Regions from separate parts of the Homo sapiens genome. Here all the other regions are linked to region 1. The links are contacts of gene promoters, found by promoter capture Hi-C in human tissues and cell types (Jung and others, 2019). All regions are on one chromosome and are shown on one strand. The core of a region is centred on a gene start or on the middle of the fragment in contact, and the rest is flanking DNA. Distances in the headings are between cores, read along the strand shown. Region 1 holds the start of PES1 (pescadillo ribosomal biogenesis factor 1). Region 2 overlaps LOC105372995 (a long non-coding RNA gene). Region 3 holds the start of LIMK2 (LIM domain kinase 2). Region 4 overlaps RNF185 (ring finger protein 185).

Evidence for each region. The method cuts DNA at HindIII sites, captures the fragments that hold promoters and counts their contacts. A contact is called where the count stands out against the background at its distance.
Region 2: a contact is called between a fragment that was not itself captured here and the fragment with the promoter of PES1 in region 1, in 7 of the 25 tissues and cell types used here (IMR-90 fibroblasts, adrenal gland, aorta and 4 more).
Region 3: a contact is called between the fragment with the promoter of LIMK2 here and the fragment with the promoter of PES1 in region 1, in 1 of the 25 tissues and cell types used here (dorsolateral prefrontal cortex).
Region 4: a fragment that was not itself captured here is called in contact with the fragment with the promoter of PES1 in region 1 in 1 of the 25 tissues and cell types used here (dorsolateral prefrontal cortex).

The regions. Positions count from the first base shown.
Region 1 is chr22:30,590,659-30,593,358 of GRCh38, forward strand. PES1 (pescadillo ribosomal biogenesis factor 1) reads right to left here and starts at 1,252. Exons shown (of 15, transcript NM_014303.4): 1 at 1,152-1,252. The coding sequence starts at 1,175. RefSeq lists enhancers at 1,080-1,795, 1,275-1,574, 1,795-1,874. The HindIII fragment of the contact is 28,649 bases long and covers 1-2,700 here.
Region 2 is chr22:31,115,183-31,117,882 of GRCh38, forward strand. The region is part of intron 1 of LOC105372995 (a long non-coding RNA gene); the gene reads right to left. Among named protein-coding and RNA genes, the nearest start is that of INPP5J, 6.4 kb to the right of the region's middle. The HindIII fragment of the contact is 5,360 bases long and covers 1-2,700 here.
Region 3 is chr22:31,210,973-31,213,672 of GRCh38, forward strand. LIMK2 (LIM domain kinase 2) reads left to right here and starts at 1,326. Exons shown (of 16, transcript NM_005569.4): 1 at 1,326-1,452. The coding sequence starts at 1,437. RefSeq lists enhancers at 867-1,046, 2,009-2,700 and a silencer at 1,027-1,426. The HindIII fragment of the contact is 2,868 bases long and covers 1-2,616 here.
Region 4 is chr22:31,172,504-31,175,203 of GRCh38, forward strand. All of the region lies in intron 1 of RNF185 (ring finger protein 185), which reads left to right. Among named protein-coding and RNA genes, the nearest start is that of RNF185, 14 kb to the left of the region's middle. The HindIII fragment of the contact is 3,103 bases long and covers 1-2,700 here.

The DNA of each region.
Region 1 (2,700 bases), core at 2-2,501:
CTGGGTATGTGCTGGGGGGAGGAGAGTTCAGCAATGTTTGGAGACATTTTTGGTTGCTGGGTGCTACTGGTATCCAGTAGGTAAAGGATCAGGGATGTTGCCAAATATCCTACTACACACAAGACAATCCTTCCCACAACAAAGACTCATCTTTGTTGATTCTGGCTCTGAAACCCAGCTTTTAAAAACTGTAACGATTTTGTTACATATCTACATCTGCAACTCAAGGGCAGGTTTTCCATCTTGTATCTTTGCAGTTCCGATGGCTAGCACTGGATACTCAATGTAGTGTGTTGGGTTAAGAACACTGGCAATAGAAACTTTCACTCTGAAAGAAACACTTAAGCCAACTATATATTCCTCATTCCCATTCCCTTCCCAGTCTTTTCATGTCACTGGGCCGATTCTCCATACAGCCACAAGAACTCCCTGAAAAACTCTAATCGTGTTACTCCTCCTTTTTTTCCTACTGCACGTAGAATAAAATCCAAGCTCTACACTATTCCTACTGCACTTAGAATAAAATCCAAGCTTACAGGCCTTGCACGATACAGTACGTGTCCAACCCCAATCTTATCAGATGCCATTCTTTTCTTGGTTTACATGCGAGTCATCCTAATGTCCTTCCAACTCCTTACACACAGCAAGCCTTCCCTGCCTACTGATCTTGGCACTTGGTTTCCCTTGTCAGGCCTGCTCGCTAAGCACTCCCATGCCCCAGAACCCATCCAAGACGTTCTGATCTTTCCCATTTCAGCCGAAATGTTATGCCTCGAAGAGAACTTCCAAGACAACACTAACCAACTAATGTAACGGTGCAGTAACGGTGAGCTCTACGTAATGTTTATCACCCTTTCGGTAAATAGTGGTCCCACGGCTCGGCCTGCTTTTGGAATGAAGCTACGCTTGGTAAGTTCAACTCTCTTTCACAGCCCTCTCCACAGAAAGAACTCTGGAGTTCGTTCTCGGATTTCACTAAACGAATACTGCCATCCTTGTCCATTCTCGGACCCCTTCTCGCAGCTGATTACGGTCACGTCGATCCCGTCTTTCCAGTCTCCACGAGACGGAGCCCGGGAAAAGAGTCGACCCCATGCTCTGCCGCCCCCGCACCCCACCCCTCGGGAATCCCCACCGTCTTTCCCAATCACCTTCTTCTTCTCAAGGCCTCCCATCGCTCCACGTTGAGGAGCCGACTAGGGCCGCGCGTACAGGGAGCTCCACTTCCTCCCGCACGTGCCCTGCCAAGGACCCCGAGGACCCTCCCCACCCCACGCTGTCTGTTTGTGCGGGCTGCCCAATGAGATGCCTGTACAAGTCCAGGGAAAGATGGGGATTTCCTCCTCAAGATTTAAAACTATAGTCTGAAAAAAATCACTGAGAACACTCTTTCCAGATCTTTCCCGCTCACAATGGTTACAAACACTTTAAGTGTTAAAACAAACGTGGATATACAGGCTTTTCTGTAATCACCCTGATGACGATTCATTGACTGTGAGCCTCGTTGCATGTTGGGACGGAGAGGGGCGGAAGGCTTAGGGACAGCGCGGTGCCTTCTGGGATGCAGAGGGGCGCCGCACTCCATGGTGCGCGATAGGATTGCGTTGTCAAGGTAACGGTTGCTAAGCGTCGTCAGACTTCGGCTGCCGCTGCTGAGAAGCGGTTCCCGAGGGGCAGGGTGAGACTGCGCTGAGTTCCCACCGGCTTCGGGTTCTCTTTGGTTCATTCGCGGTTATGCGGCTAAAATAGAAAAAAGGAAGACATTTTTCCTCGCGGAGGTATAGAGATCCTAGAGGCCACTTATATTTTCTGAGCCTTAGTGGTGGACTCGTGGTATATTTAAAATGTACATTCAAGGCTGGGAGCGGTGGCGCACGCCTGTAATCCCAGCACTTTGGGAGGCCAAGACAGGCGGATCATCTGAGGTCAGGAGTTCGAGACCAGTGTGACCAATATAGTGAAACCCCGTCTCTGCTAAAAATACAAAAATTAGCTGGCCATGGTGGCACACGCCTGTAATCCCAGCTACTCGGGAGGCTGACGCAGGAGAATCGCTTGAACCTGGGAGGCAGAGGTTGCAGTGAGCCGAGATCTTGCCACTGCACTCCAGCCTGGGCGACAGAGTGAGACTCCATCTCAAAAATAAATAAATAAATAAAATTAAATGTACATTCAACATATTCGAGCTTTTAATTTGTACACATAAATTCTGTAAGTGTTCCTCAAATAATAATTCCAAGATTTATACAAATAGTCACATCACCTTGAGATGGTGCAGTCTGGAAGTAGATGCAATTTTAAGAGGTTTTTTTTTTTTTAAACGTTTCTCCCTTTTTCCAAATTCCAAATTTCGTTCGAAGATGATCTCAAAAGTTTAAATTTGAGGCTCTTGTGAATGTGACCTGGCCCAAGGACTTGGTCTTAGAACTTACACAGAGACAGACGTTAAGCACTGGTGAATACTTGTTTTGAACTATGTGACTTGCACTATCTAATTTAAAGCTAAAATTTAAAACCCAGCAATTCCACAGTTAAAAATGAGATGAAGCCGGGCACGGTCGCTCACACCTGTAATCCCAGCACTTTGAGAGGCTGAGGCAGGCGGATCACCTGAGATCAGGAGTTTGAGACCAGCCTGGCCAACATGGCGAAAACCCATCTCTACCAAAAATACAAAAATTAGCCGGGTGTGGTGGCAGG
Region 2 (2,700 bases), core at 186-2,685, 520 kb after region 1:
CTTTTTTTGACCCAGTAATTCCATTTTTCAGAATTAGCCCCAAAGTAATCATCAGAGAGAGGATTGTTAGGTCAAGCTTGTTTATTAGAATACCATTTATCGTGGTGAAGAACTGGGGATATAACCTAAGCATGTCACAGCAGGGGATGAGTTAAATTAATGAGTGTACCTCCATAGGATGGAAAACCATGCAATTGTTAAAAATGATGCAGCAGGCTGGGCGTGGGTGGCTCACGCCTGTAATCCCGGCACTTTGGGAGGCCGAGGTGGGCGGATCACCTGAGGTCAGGAGTTTGAGAGCAGCCTGGCCAATATGGTGAAGCCCCATCTCTACTAAAAATATAAAAATTAGCTGGGCATGGTGATGGCTGCCTGTAATCTCAGCTACTTGGGAGGCTAAGGCAAGAGAATTGCCTGAACCCAGGAGGCAGAGGTTGCAGTGAGCTGAGATCGCACCACTGCACTCCAGCCTGGGCGAGTGAGACTCTATCTCAAAAAAAAAAAAAAAGATGCAGCATAGATGGAATGACATGGAGAATGTTCGTGGTTATGGTATTAAATAGCAAGAAAAAAGCAACAAAAACAGTAATCTGGTAATATCAATTGGGAGTTGTGATGCTGTGGGCTGCAAGTCATAGAAACCCCAATTTAAACTGGCTTAAACAATAAAGGGAGCTGGTTGTGGTGGCTTGTGTCTATAAACCCAGCTACTCAGGAGGCTGAGGCAGGAGGATAACTTGAGGCCAAGAGTTCCAAACTATCCTGGACAACATAGTGAGAACCCATCTCTAAAAAAAGATATTTAAAATCTAGCCAGGCATGGCAGTGCCTGTAGTCCCAGCTACCCCAGAGGCTGAGGTGGGAGGACTGCTTGAGCCCAGGAGTTCAAGACTACAGTGAGCTATGATCATGCCACTGCACTCTAACCTGGGAGACAGAGTGAGACCCCATCTCCTATAAAAAATAAAAAATAATACAGTGAGCCAAGATCGTACCACTGCACTCTAGCCTGGGCAATGTGAGTAAGACCCTGTGTCAAAAAATAATAAAAATAAAGGGGCTGGGCCCAGTGGCTCATGCCTGTAATCCCAGCACTTTGGGAGGCCGAGATAGGCAGATCACTTGAGGTCAGGAGATGGAGACCAGCCTGGCCATCATGGTGAAACCCCCTCTCTACTAAAAACACAAAAACTAGCTGGGCATGATGGTGCACACCTGTAATCCCAACTACTTAGGAGGCTGAGGAAGAGAATTGCTTGAGCCCGGGAGGTGGAAGTTTCAGTGAGCCAAGATTGCGCCACTGCACTCCAGCCTGGGTGCCAGAGCGACACTCAGTCTCTAAATAAATAAATAAATAAAGGGACTCTGTTGGCTCAAATAATTTTAAAAGTCCAGGACAGGCACAGTGGCTGACGCCTGTAATCCCAGCAATTTGGGAGGCTGAGGCGGGCAGATCACCTAAGGTCAGGAGTTTGAAACCAGCCTGGCCAACATGGCGAAACCCCGTCTCTACTAAAAATACAAAAATTAGCCAAACGCAGCGGTGGGCACCTGTAACTCCAGCTACTCGGGAGGCTGAGGCAGGAGAATCGCTTGAACCTGGGTGGCGGAGGTTGCAGTGAGCCAAGATCGTGCCACTGTACTCCAGCCTGGGCGACAGATTGAGACTCCATTTCAAAAAGAAGAAAAAAAAAGTCCAATGGCAGGTGGGGCTTCAGGTGAAGTTTGATCCAGTTAATGAAGTCACCAAAGCCTGGTGTCTCTCCATTCTGCTTTCCATAATGTCAGTTTATCAGTAGGCCAATTTTCTACATGGTGTAAAGATGGCTGCCAGCAGTAACTAGAGCCATTGGCCTCTTCATTTACATCTAATGGAAGGAAGATCATCTTTTTTGGCAGCCTCCTCAGGAGAGAAAATAAGCTTCCTTTCCCAAAAGCCCTGAGCAAAAATTTCCTTGTATCTTGCTAGTTCATTCGTGATCTAATCATGTGCCTGGGGAAATGGGAATTGCTTACTGGCTTAACCAACTGGGACCCATTCCTGAAGCTGAGGGTGGGGTCCACCATATTCCAGTTCCTGTTAAGAAGGAGATGGGCTGCAACCTTAACAGGATCCTAACCCTAACCCTAACCCTACTGTGTTGCTGGACATTGTGGCAGCAACACAGTAACCAACCAATTCTATAAAACATGTATAGGCCCAGTCTTGGTGGCTCACGCCTGTAATCCCAGCACTTGGGAGGCCAAGGCATGTGGATCACTTGAGTCCAGGAGTTCAAGACCAGCCTGGTCAACAAGGCAAAACCCTGTCTCTACTAAAAATACAAAATTAGCTGGGCATGGTGGTGCATGTCTGTAATCCCAGCTACTCGGGAGGCTGAGGCAGGAGAATTGCTTGGACCAGAGGTGGAGGTTTCAGTGAGCTGAGATCATGCCACTGCACTCCAGCCTGGACGACAGAGTGAGACTCCATCTCAAAAAATAGATATAGCTATATAAAATATATAACACGTATATGTAAATATACATGTATATAAATATATATGCATATTATATACAACATGTATATAAATATATATGCATATTATATACAACATGTATATATAAATATATATGCCTAGACCCCCGCCCCCACCAAAAAATATCTATAAGGAAACAAACCAATAAGTCAGAACGATTATTTCTTGGTGGATGAAATTA
Region 3 (2,700 bases), core at 76-2,575, 620 kb after region 1:
AAAATCTGACCGGCATCCGGTTTGAATTAGAGCAGGAAGGAAGAGAATTGTGCTCGCCTTTGTCTTTGCCTTTGCCTTTGCTTACCCAACTGCTGGGACCAGAGGCAGCTGGGTTGAACTTTGTCTTTGGTCAGGGGTGGGGGTGGAGGGGACAGAATCCATTTCCCTGGGCTCCATCCTCTTTCTGGTCATTTGGACATGTTTCCTGTGATCTAAATCTGATGTAAGGAAATGACAATTGTGAAAGACCCAGCGTGAGAGAATCTGATGGGAGGGTGGGTCATCAGGGACCAGCTGGCCTGGCTGATGATGTATTAATATCTTAATCACACAGAGGACCCCAATCTCCTTCCAAACCTAATGAGCGGAAGTGGTTCTCAAAGCTACTCAGCCAGCTAGCAGCTGCCATAACCCAGTCAGCTGTCCTAACTCTTAGTCCTGTAATCCCTCCTCCTCATAGAAGATTGTAAACTGGCAGCCCACAGGGCAAATCTAGTGGCCAGGTGTGTTTCATTTGGTCTACATGGCATTTTAAGAACTTTTTGATGCTATCAACATTTTTTAAAAGTGGCAAATTTCACCTAAATATCTGGATTTTTGGCATGTTTTGAAAGGTTGGAAGACCTGGGAATGGTAGGCCCATGTTCCTGCAGGGGAGTGCTCGTCTTCCAATGCGGCGCACAAGCTCCAGCGTCCTGCGCTAAACCTAATTGGCCTGGCTGAGGATCTGCTCCTGGAATGCTGGTTGGTCGCCTCCAACTGTCTTTGACTTAGAGATTATTTACTGTCAGCTTACTCATAGTGGCGCAGAGAAGTGGTTTCTCTGAGCTAGAAGCTTCTAAGAAAAGTCCATCCTCAAAGCTGTTTGTGGGATAGACCTGGCTCCTCCATTGTAATATTCCTGATTCCAAACACTACTGGAAAGAGCTCTGAACTGGCAGTTAGCAGGCCTGGGCTCCCATCCCGGCTCTCCTCCTAATGAGCGAAGCCATTTCAATGTAGTCGAACTTAGCCTCTGATCCTTAACTTTCCCTATCTGTAAATGAGGGCGACTAGATGGGTGCGGACTGTCATCCGTGTTGAGACTTCCGGCCCCCGCAGAATCAACCTTACCGGCGGGAGCACCTCGAGGGGACGCCGCTCGCACTAGGGGGCGCCAGGGCCGCTGCAGAGCCCGAGCCAGAGCCAGGGGGCGGGGCCGCGTCTCGGGAGCGAGGCCTGAGAGCGGCGGGGCGGGGCGTCGGCGGGCAGTCCCCTGTGCCAGGTGTGGTTTGGTCCTCCCAGGGCGCCGTAGGCGGTGCATCCCGTTCGCGCCTGGGGCTGTGGTCTTCCCGCGCCTGAGGCGGCGGCGGCAGGAGCTGAGGGGAGTTGTAGGGAACTGAGGGGAGCTGCTGTGTCCCCCGCCTCCTCCTCCCCATTTCCGCGCTCCCGGGACCATGTCCGCGCTGGCGGGTAAGGAAGGGCTGCTCCGCCCTGTCCCGCTGTTATCTCCGAAGTCCGGTTCCATGGCGCCTGAGGGAAACCGGCTGTCTCTCGGGGGTTTCGGGCTGGTTGGGTCCTCGTGGGTCCGAGCTCCTCAGAAAAGCTGGGAGGCGGGGTGGGCACAGCGCTCCCCAGGCATTTGGAGGGTGGGACTCCGGGAATGGGGAGGCAGGGCATCCTGGAGACAGAGGGCTCCGAGGGGCAGGCGGGTTGGGAGGCTTCCCGCGAGTTGAGGTCCCGGGGAGGAAGAGATTCTGGGTCTGCCAGGAATCCAGCTTTTTGGAGGGACCTGGCGGCCGCAGACCCCCAAATTAACCCTTTTTAAGGAAGTTGAAAAGCATGGGGTTCTCTTATAGTGGAAGCTCTGTGGAATTTGAGGAGTACAGGATCCTCTAGGGTTCAGGACAATTAGGAGAGTTACCCCGGGTTCTGGGTTTTCTGAGGGAAATGGAGGATGTGACTTCCCTGCCAAGACCCAAGGCTTCTCGCGGGCATCTTGGTGTCTGGGAGTCCCCCGGGGCTGGGAGCTCTTTGCAGAAAATAAGGGAGTATGGAGCCCCTTGAGGTTTAGGACAGGACTAAGGGTAAGGAGAGATCGGACCATTCTTTTTGGGGCCCAAAGATCTCTGCTACAGGTGGCGAAAGTAGGCCACCTGGGGTTCTGAGTCCTCCTGTGGAAGCTCCCTTGGCCTCTCTAGACTAAAGACTAGAGGGATTCGGCCAAACACCTCCTGGAAGGAAGAGTTGTCTAAGGGTGAAGGGTAGCTTCAGAGTTGGGTTAGTTGCACCTGCAGTCACCTCCCCGCCACCTCACACACCACCCTGCAGCTTCCTGCCTTCCCCATCTTTTCCCCCAGCAGTAGGAACCTTCTGTCTCCTATGTTTCCCAGCCACCTGTGTGGGTGGCCCACCTCTGGGTCCACCAGGGTCAGCGTCCAGAAGCTTTGGAGAGGCGGCAAGAGGGTATTGAGGTGGAGGGGGGCTGGCTATCTGCCCCCTGCTTCCTGGCTTTCCGTCTGTGGACAGTCACTTCCTTCATCTTGAATGCAAGGACTGGGCTACCAGTGGGTCACTTCCTCAGCAAGGGAGCATGGGATTTTCTCTTCACTGGTGATAACAGACTTCTGGAGAGAGCTAGGGGTGGAAATGCCTAAAACAAATTTTTTTAGGCTGGGCGTGGTGGCTCATGCCTGTAATCCCAGCACTTTGGGAGGGCAG
Region 4 (2,700 bases), core at 129-2,628, 580 kb after region 1:
TTTGGGAGGCCGAGGCAGGCGCATCACCTGAGGTCAGGAGTTCAAGACCAGCCTGGCCAACAAGGTGAAACTCCATCTCTACTAAAAATACAAAAATTGGCCAGTCATGATGGTGCACACCTGTGGTCCCCGCTACTCAGGAGGCTGAGGCAGGAGAATCACTTGAACCCAGGAAGCAGAGGTTGCAGTGAGCCAAGATCTTGCCACTACACTCCAGCCTGAGCAACAGAGTGAGACCCCGTCTCAAAAAAAAAAAAAAAAAAAAGCAAAACCCTTATTTTTTAAACTTTTCTCATGACAAAGGGATGGCTGGAACAATTATTCCCCATTTGCAGGTAAGGACACTGGCATAGTGAGTGACAGACCTGAGCCTTAGGCTAAGTCCTCTGGCTCCAGATTATTTCTTTCATGGTGTTATACTAGAAATTCACAGCCCTTGACTGGTATCTGTCCAGTCTGAAGAGCTTTTCTTTAAAACACTATTTTCCTCAGCTGTATTGGTTTGATTGAAATTAAATCCCCTTCATTCATTCACATACCTTAATCAAACATCTACTTCCTGTCAGGAACTGTGCTGTTGGCCCTAGGAGGTATCTCACTGGAGTGGGTAATAGTTCAGTGGATAACCAAACCTCTGTGTGAGTATGTTATCTTTAATAGGGAGAAATTTGAGAAAACTTGAAACTACTTCTGGTTGCAGATCCCTCAATTTTTTTTTCATTTGTGTAAGAGTTTTGGGTAATACTTAAAAAAAAAAAAATTGACTCTAAGTTATGTAACATTTCCAGTTCTGAACAGCATGTTTTGCTGTTATAGGATACTGATTTTCCACAACTCTAGTTGGCTATATTGAGTTGTACAGTTCTAATTGCTCCTGGGCATCAGATCTGTCAACTCATTCACACACACACAGACACACACACACACACACACACACACGTATGTATATATCAGGTGCTCCTGAGGCACCTAGCCCTGTGCTGAGTAAGGAACCTGGAAGCTGGGTCTGCGCTTGACAAGACGCACAAGAACAGATCACTGAGTTACCATTTGTTAAGGACGTTGGCTTGGGTTGGGAAGCTTTGCCTCTGACTAGGTCTGTGACCATGGGCAAGTGACCTAACTACTCTGAGCCTTTATTTAACATCCCAAGGGATGCTAATGATGATACAGTAGTGTTTACCTAAAGGCAGGCCATAAAGATTAAATGAGATAATTCATGTAGAGGGCTGAGCAGTGTTAGCTATGTTACTTATAGTGATAAGAAATATAACAAGTGTCCCCTAATTTTAACACTTGGGGAAAATCTGATTTTCTCTGGGTCAAATTGTATCTAATTTTAGATTTCCTCTCAGTTCATAAACATACACAGTTCTGATGTCTCATCTACTCTGCATTCAAGGAATGATGCTCATTGAGAAAGGAAAGTTGTGACTCATTTACTCAGCAAATTAACCAAGTACCTGCTGGTTGCATATGTCTATGAGGAATATACAAAAACAGTTTACCTTCAGTGAACTCAGAGACCTTAAAAGGGAGGGGGATTAACATTTCATGAGTACTTAACTATGTGCCAGGCACTATGCTAGTCCCGTACTGTTTTATCTCTATTTCTTAGAACTGTCTTGTGAGGAAGATATTAGCCTCATTTTAGCAAATGAGAAAAACAAAGGCTCAGAAAGAAAATAACTTGTCTGAAATCACAGAATAAGTTGCAGAGCTGAGATTTGAACTCAGCCATCACATTCCTCTGTGCCGTGCTAGTTTTTAAGGAAAAAAGTTAAGGAACATTTTATGACAAAAGGCAACTTCTTAGATGACACTTAAAAGTTTGTGCCAGTGGTAGTACAAATCCCATTTCACTCTTTAAAAAAAATTTTTTTTTTTAATTTAAGAAACAGAGTCTCCTTCTGTCTCCTAGGTTGGAGTGCAGTGGCGTCATCATCGCTCACTGCAGCCTTGAGCTCCTGGGCTCAAGTGAGCATCCTGCCTCAGCCTCCCAAGGAGCTAGAACTACAGGCACACGCCACCATACCTGGCTAATTTTAAATTTTTTTGGTGATGGAGTCTCACTATATTGTTCAGGCTAGTTTTGAACTCTTGGCCTTAACTGATCCTCCTGCCTCGGCCTCCCAAAGTGCTAAGATTACAGGAGTGAGCCACCATTCTTGTCCTCCATTTTGTCCTTTTTTAAAAATGAAACATGGTAATTTTTCAAAAATAATTGAAGCTTAAAACCCAACAAATGAACAAAACATTCTTTGTATTTAAAAATAATGGAAGAGGCTGGGTGTGGTGGCTCATGCCTGTAATCCCAGCACTTTGGGAGGCCGAGGTGGGCGGATCACCTGAGGTCAGGAGTTCGAGACCAGCTTGACCAACATGCTGAAACTCGGCCTCTACGAAAAATACCAAAAAAATTAGTTGGGTGTGGTGGCGGGTGCCTGTAATCCTAGCTACTTGGGAGGCTGAGATGGGAGGATCGCTTGAACCCAGGAGGCAGAGGTTGCGGTGAGCCGAGATCGCGCCGTTGCACTTCAGTTGGGCGACAGAGCGAGCCTCCGTCTCAAATTAAAAAAAAAAAAAAAAAGTAGTGGACGAAAATGTGAAAAAGTAGGAACAGCTGGCTCTAGAATCCCCACTCAGATATGTGTTATCTCTGGGCTTGGTGGCTGATTGCCTGTAATCTCAGCAATTTGG